2 separate regions of the Homo sapiens genome follow, and region 1 is linked to region 2. Evidence: promoter capture Hi-C in human tissues and cell types (Jung and others, 2019). All regions are on one chromosome and are shown on one strand. Each heading gives the region's core, a stretch centred on a gene start or on the middle of the fragment in contact. The rest is flanking DNA. Distances are from core to core; before and after follow the strand shown. Region 1 has its middle 6.0 kb from the start of ARFGAP1. Region 2 holds the start of YTHDF1 (YTH N6-methyladenosine RNA binding protein F1).

Region 1 (3,897 bases), core at 896-3,395, 51 kb after region 2:
ACTAATTAGCAAAGTCATCTCAAAACAGAGATGTGAGTTGGGGACCCAGTGAGCATTCCTCAAAGTCTCTAAAGAAACAGATCTCATTTCTGAGACCTGGCCCAGCTAGAGCTGCCTGATATGAACCTGGGATTTCAAGAGCTCCTGTTTCATCCTTAAAATGCACTTGAATTTCACTTTGTAATGTACTTAAGGTTGTTTTAATATTGAAACAATGTTATTTTTAGTTTATTTTTCTAGATGAAGTCTCACTCTGTCGCCCAGGCTGGAGTACATTGGTGCGATCTCGATCTTGGCTCACTGCAACCTCCACCTCCCCGGTTCAAGCAACTCTCCTGCCTCAGCCTCCTGAGTACCTGGGATTATGGGTACCCACCACCATGCCTAGCTAATTTTTGTTTTTTTGGTAGAGACAGTGTCTTATCATGTTGGCCAAGCTGGTCTCGAACTCCTGACCTCAGGTGATCTCCCTGCCTCGGCCTCCCAAAGTGCTGGGATTGCAGGTGTGAGCCACGGCACCCAGCCTGAAACAACATTTTAAACTGCTAATCAGGCCTACAGTTTATATGCCTCTGCACAAGCCCTGCCCCCCTTTCCTGGGCAGGGGTGGGGTGGGGAGATGTCTCAGTGCCCCCATAGCCCAGTCCTTTCTCTCCCCCCACCCTCCCTGCCCCGACCCTCACACTGCCCCGTCCTGCAGGAGAGAGGCATCCCAGTTTGGGAAGCTGGTAATGCCCACCACTCGGTCACCAGTGTTGGTACCGCTCTGGCTGTCGGCAACTGGCTGGGCCTGGGGACACATGGGAACAACTCCGATCACACAGGAAGAGTTTCCCGGTCCCTCGGGACCATGGAAGCCCAGCCACACAGCACCGGTTTGAGGCAAGGCTCTCAATACCTCGCCCTCCGTGCCCAACACCTTGGTCTTCTGCTAGGGGTCCTCACAGTCTGGGGAAACTGAGTCCACATGGGCCTCAGGGCTGGAGCTTGGAGCCCAGGGCACCCAGTCAGCACATTCTATCCTCCTGGCCGGTGATTGTTTGGAAGTGGACACATGACCCCAGCTAGGCCCATCAGGGTGGAGCGTGAGCTTTCAGCTGGGATGCCGGTGCAAGGCTACTTTCTCTTGCTGGAGGCGAATCATGAAGCTTGCAGCCTTAGAAGCTGCCAGAAGCATCCTGGGGTCTCAGGATGAAGACGGAACTGCAAACATACACAGAGAATCCTGGTTCTCAGCAATAGTGCTGAGCTGCTGGATCAAGCCACACCTGAAATTGAACTTTGTTCTAGAATTTTCATCACACAAATCAATACATTCCCTTTGCTAAGCCATTTGGGGTTGAGATTTTTGCCTCTAGCAACTAGAATCTGGAAAGATTCCTGGCTAAGATACGCATGGGAGGGTCCAAAGCAGGAGGACCCTGCGGGTCCAGCTGTCACAGCCCCAGGATCTGAGCTACCAGTTCTGCAATCTGAGAAGCTGGCCTGGTCTCAGCACATTCTTAGCTGTGACTCCTTAGCCGCTGTGGCCACACGTAATTCAGCACAGCTGCAAGTTTCTTGGAGCTCAGGACAGAGCGGCTCAGCATTTTCGAGGAACATTTGTACTTCTGGGTGACTTACACACCCTGACATTCTTCCCATTTCCTTCTGTCCTGGGCCCCAGTTCTTCTGGACGCCACGCACAGGCAGCAGAAGTGGGGGCAGACGGGGCTGGAACCAGCCAGGTGGAGTCCCACCATGCAGCAGGCCAGAAGCCAGGACCAAGGCAGCACCGTCGTGGGCAGCCCCGGGCCAACCCCACGCGCTTCTCTCCAGGACCCAGGCGGCACCGTCGTGGGCAGCCCCGCACTAACCCCACGCGCTTCTCTCCAGGACCCAGGCGGCACCGTCGTGGGCAGCCCCGGGCCAACCCCACGCGCTTCTCTCCAGGACCCAGGCGGCACCGTCGTGGGCAGCCCCGGGCCAACCCCACGCGCTTCTCTCCAGGACCCAGGCGGCACCGTCGTGGGCAGCCCCGGGCCAACCCCACGCGCTTCTCTCCAGGACCCAGGCGGCACCGTCGTGGGCAGCCCCGGGCCAACCCCACGCGCTTCTCTCCAGGACCCAGGCGGCACCGTCGTGGGCAGCCCCGGGCCAACCTCACGTGCTTCTCTCCAGATACAGGACAAAGCTGTTTCAGAAGGACCTGGTGGTGGAAGATGATCAACAGGAGACAAAAATGGGCAGAGAAAAACACAGGCATCCACAGGACACACCATGGCCAGGCCGTGTTTGCTTGGCCTCACCACCATTAAGATGAGAAAATTAAACAGCGATGGCGACGCGTGTGCTTAGAGCCCGGCGGAGACAGCCCCCTTGGTAATGGCAGCCAGGGAGGGGACGCAAGGAACAGGCACACTCCCATCAGCGCATCTGGCACAGGGGTTTGGAGGACAATTTGGTGGAATCTCCCAGAACTTACCTGGCACTTCCACCTCTAGAGGTCTATGTTGTGGAAATACTCGCACAAACAGAGAGAGGTCACCGCACAAAGATGTCCAGTGCAACATCGAAGGTAAAACAAAGTAATGATGATTGTGACAGGAGAGTCCTGTCTTCCAATCAGAGGCCAGTTAGAGAACGTAAGAGACCTCAGTGGTTAAGATGAACAAGCCTCTGCTATAGAGGGGACGCAAGAAAGCCACCAATCAAGGTGTGAGTAGCAGGGAAGCCCAGGCCGTGTGCCTGTTTATGCAGAAGACAAGATCTGGGCAGGTCCACCCCAAACTGCTGGCCGTGCTCCCTCTGGAGGTCCTGCCCAGGACCAAAGGGGCTTTCAAGCCTCCAAGGGGCACCCCCATGGTGCCCTGGGGTTGTAGAATGCCTCCTTCCTGAAAGCCCCACCTGCGAGTCAGCTCCCCTGCCTCACTTCTTCCCCCCGTCACCGCTCAAGCTGGCTGTGACTGTGGTGGCAATGCAGGACCCAGCAGTTGAGCTACAGGAATTTCCCTGGAGCTGCCTCTGTGTGAGCCCTGGCCGGACACACCAAGAGACAGGGAGAGGGCGAGGGGATGAGCCAACCCTCCAGCAACTCCCAGACAACGGGGCAGGGCAGGGCCAGGGGAATGACCAGAATTCTCTCAAGTGGAGGGTGCAGAGGGCGTGGGTGAGTGAGCAGGGGCTGGAGGCCCCCAGCAGCTGCACGAGAGGGCGGGGCAGAGACAAGACCAGAACCCAAGTTCCTAGGAGGCCTGGAATGATGAGTTTATTCCTGGGATTTTATTCCTAGGATGATGGTGCTGAGCGAGGTCTGGGCAGAAAGAAGGAACTTCTGGGCAGGAGAACTTCAGGGGACTCTACCATGAAGTGTGGAGCGCTGAGCAGGGAACAGCCTGAGCATGGAGCAGCCCAGCGAGTGTGGGGCTTTCTGGCTTTGGCTCAAGGTGACCTGACTTGCAGGTTGATGCTGGTGATGGAGAGGGTTGGAGAGAGAGAGGCGACGATCCAGAAGGATTTCCCCTTTGCTATGCTGCTGGCCTCTCCCCTTCACCCAAACTAAGAGGTGCTGGCACCCATCACAGCACATGGCAGCCGGAATGCCAGCTGGGAGGGCTGCTGTCGTAGGTCAGGTTCCCTGGAGGCTGAAGACAGGGATTGCTGTGCCAGTGATTCTTTGGGAGGTGCTTGTCTTAATCTGCTCAGGCTGCTGTAAGAAAATCCACCAGACTGTGTGGCTTGTGAGCAACAGAAATTCATTTCTCACAGTTCTGGAGGCCGGAAGTCCAAGATCAAGGCATGGGGATATTCTGGGCTGGGCGAGGGTCTGTGCCCAAGAGCCGGCACCTCCTCTCTGTGTCCTCACATGGGAAAGGCGTCGGGTCTCTCTGGGGCCCCTTTTATGAGGGCACTCATCCC
Region 2 (3,457 bases), core at 131-2,630:
CCTTTGTCCACCAGGAATTTCCTTGTGGGCAAACTGTGGGGGAAGTATGTAACTTTTTTTGTCTTAGAAGCTATCTTTTTCAGGAATAGAATGGGAGGCAGGTTTGCCCTCAGCAGTTCTCAGCGTAGCTTTCTCCCTTTGGCTCAGTGATTTGGGTGCCCCAAGACTGGTTTTCCTTTTACACCACTTACCTTCCCACTGTTATTATGCTCAGCCAGAAAAAGCAAGCAAAGGTAAATAAAGTGCTGGGCCTTTTCCAATCTTAAAACACGATGAACCGTATTTGGTTACACCTGAGCTGACACACAAACTGGCTAAAAAAGTGTTCCAAGTAAACGTGAAGTGTCACTTAACAGTTTTCACATGAGTGCGCTCTGAGGGTTTATCCCAAGCCATAATGTCACAGGAGATGCTAACAGACTTGGAAAACGGGCTGCAACTACCGGGGATGTGGAGCTTAGCCTGCAGAACCTTGGACTGCCCCTCTCCTAGAGCAGCCCCTGCTGGGCGGAAAAAGGCAAGTCGCTCAACCCCTGCGGCCATGTCCACCCGGCTCTCCTACCTCCCCTTCCCCAAAGCAAATCCATGATCATGCGGTGGGGAGAGACGGGCCCAAACTACTCTGAGCAATCATTTATTCACTTCTTGAGAAGCCCCTGTCTTCGACCTGTCAAATCTCCCAGAATCGTCGCACAACCTCAAGTTTTATCTCCCTGAAGCTGGCGGAAGAGAGAAAGTTTCCGGTTCCAGACGCAGCTTCCTGGACCGTTCCTTCCCCGTCCTCCTCCACTCCAGCCCGCGCCGGCCGTCCCGGGACTCCGCTCACCTTTATTATCTTGTCCTTTTGTTCTCTGCACCGCCGCAGGCCGGGACGTGGGGTACACACAACCCGGGGGAAGAGGGAAACACAAAGTTATTCACCAGAGAACTGGTCTCCAACGGGCCGCGAGCTCCGCCGGCCCCGACGCGCGGTCACGTGCGACCCCGGCCCCGAGACCCCGGTCCCGCCTGGGCCCGGCCTCCGCGACCCCGGGCTCTGCGTTCCAGCCCCAGGACCTCAACCCAGACCCCGCGCCTCGGCCCCGGCCGCGGCCCCTGTAACCCGGCCCCGCTACCTGGGTGTCCACGCTGGTGGCCGACATGCTTCATGAACAACTAGACGCGGGGCCGGGGCGCCCGCCGGCTCGGGCCTCCCCTAGAGGCCGGGCCTGTCACCCTAGCTCGCGCGGCCCCGGGCCCCGCCGCCAATTCCCCGGGCGCCGGCCGGGCGGCGGCGGCGGCTGCTGGGCGCGCGGGCCCCTGGCGAGGCGGCAGCGGCGGTGAGCCCGGGACGCGGACGCACTGAGGAGGCGTCGACTCCAATGGCGGCGGCGGCGGCGACAGCAGCGGCGACGGCGGCGGCAGGGGACGAGACTGCGCGGCGTCAGCGTGCACGCGGGGCAGGCCGGGAGCGCCGCGCCGGGCCGCCACACTTCGCGCCTGCGCGCTCCCGTCTTACGGGATGGATTTCGCTCTCAGGTCCCAGTCTCGTGCGGCGGGGCGGGGACCGCAGCCGGCTGGGCGGGGAAGCCCTGAGCCGGGGAAGTCACGTGGGGCGTGTCCGGAGGCGCCGCGGGGCCTGGCGGGAAGGGGCTGGCGGGCTGCTGCCAGGTGTACAGCCGCCCACACACACCCCGGCCACAGCCGCACCCCCGACGCGCTACCGGCACTGAGGCCTCTGTAGTTTTCCCCAAGGTCCGAAGACTAAACGCTGTTCTGGTCCGACAGCTGGGCTACGGGTCTGTCCGGGGTCGGTCTGCCCTTCCCCCGCGCGCAAACACCTGCCCGCCCAGAGCTCCGAGCCCCCGCGTGTTCCAGGTCGCGCGCCTCGGCCCTTGCCGCGGGACCTGCGGGCTTTGTTCGCTTTGCGGCCCTGGCCTTCAGCCGCAGCGGAGCCCTGGGCCCGGTCCCGGAGGTCAGCTGTTGTGTGGATGCACCCCTGGACCTGCGAGAGGCTCGCCGGCTTATAACCAAGTTCTCATGTTAGATTCTTGACCCCGATTTCATCACCAGGAGGAAAAGCAGTGCTCTGTGCCCCAGCCTAGGCCGGGCCAGGGGACTTGTCATCTTTGTTCGAGGATGGACAGCCCCTTCTTAGCAGCAACTGTGCAAAGAGAGCCCAGTTCTCAGTTCCTAACCCCTCAGCATCCCCAACCTGGACGCCCTTCTGGTCAAGGTGTTGAATTTCGCTCCCTGCAGCCAGTATCCAATCCTGCCACCCTTGTGGCTAACTCCCTACAGAGGCTTCCAGGTTGATATTTTTCTTTCCAGCTCTGGCAGCTGTAACATCTTCACGTGGCCTGGATCTGGGTCCTGCTAAAGGAGAAAGACCTGGAATGGGGTGTCAGGCAGGTTGACGTCAAATGAGTGTTTTCCACAAAGTGGGCCCGGGCAGATGCGCTAAGCAGGGTGAACAGTGACAGCAGGGACGGCAATGGAGTCCCAAGACGGCTCCAAGCCTGGACATCCGCATCAGTGGGGTAGCAGACAGCCTCTCACACTGCTGCAGGAGGAGGTGGAAACTGCCCCCAGCAGGCCGGTCAGCCACAGAGAGGACTGCTGCTCCAAGTTGCTCCAGGTCTCCCTGGAGCCCTGCCTCGCCTAAAGCTGGGGAAAGCGGGCTGGGCTTGTTTCCCTGGAACAGAGCTGGGGGATGTCTGGTGCCCTGAGGATGAATCTGGATCCCCTGGGACTTTGATGTGTTTGGGCCATGGGCAGACATCTCAGGCCAGGATGAAATCTGTGCATTTGGGGTACATCCGAAAATGAACAGCACGTTTCCAGGATGGTGGCCCACATGGAGAAGATGTGTGGGGATTGTAGGGACAGTGGGGTCCCTGGGGGCACCCTGCCACCTGCTTCTGTGTGATAAGGCCTGCGCATCCTGGGCAGGCCCTGAGTGCCTGCTTCCCAGGACACTGAACTGTTTGGCGGCCAAGACTGCAGCAAGGGGGTGTCTGGGTGGTCAGAGTAGACACTCGGACTCTTGGAGCCCCTGTCTGTCTTCTCACCCAGCTCCCATCCCTGGGCCAGGACGGTGCAGTGGTCACCACTGGAGTTCAGAGCCTCACAGCCAGTTACAGGGCCTTCAGCCTCAGGCCTACTTTCCTCCTCCGTGGTGGGTTAATTACTCCCCTTTCACAGGATGAGTGTGTGGAAGAAACTGGGTATGCAGCCCTTGGCGTCAGGCCAGGGCTCTGTCAACACTGGCTGTTACCTGCTGCCTTCACCCACAAATGCCCAGCCAGTCACAGGAGGCAGCACTGGCCCTGCGGGAAGTGGCCACTCCGAGCTTAGGGGCCTTCTTAGATGGCTGAGTGCCGGCAATGCAGGACCCTGGAGGTGTTTCAGTTTCCTGGAGCTATCTCAACAAAGTACCCGGAACTGGGGGGCTTAAAATAACGGCAATTTATTCTCT

Evidence for each region. Contacts are between HindIII fragments. The study calls those that stand out against the background at their distance.
Region 1: a fragment that was not itself captured here is called in contact with the fragment with the promoter of YTHDF1 in region 2 in 1 of the 25 tissues and cell types used here (dorsolateral prefrontal cortex).

The regions. Positions count from the first base shown.
Region 1 is chr20:63,264,828-63,268,724 of GRCh38, forward strand. No RefSeq gene overlaps it. Among named protein-coding and RNA genes, the nearest start is that of ARFGAP1, 6.0 kb to the right of the region's middle. The HindIII fragment of the contact is 7,334 bases long and covers 1-3,897 here.
Region 2 is chr20:63,214,751-63,218,207 of GRCh38, forward strand. It overlaps YTHDF1 (YTH N6-methyladenosine RNA binding protein F1), which reads right to left and starts at 1,381. Exons shown (of 5, transcript NM_017798.4): 1 at 1,116-1,381; 2 at 827-851. The coding sequence starts at 1,142. RefSeq lists silencers at 1,254-1,323, 1,454-1,733. The HindIII fragment of the contact is 8,217 bases long and covers 1-3,457 here.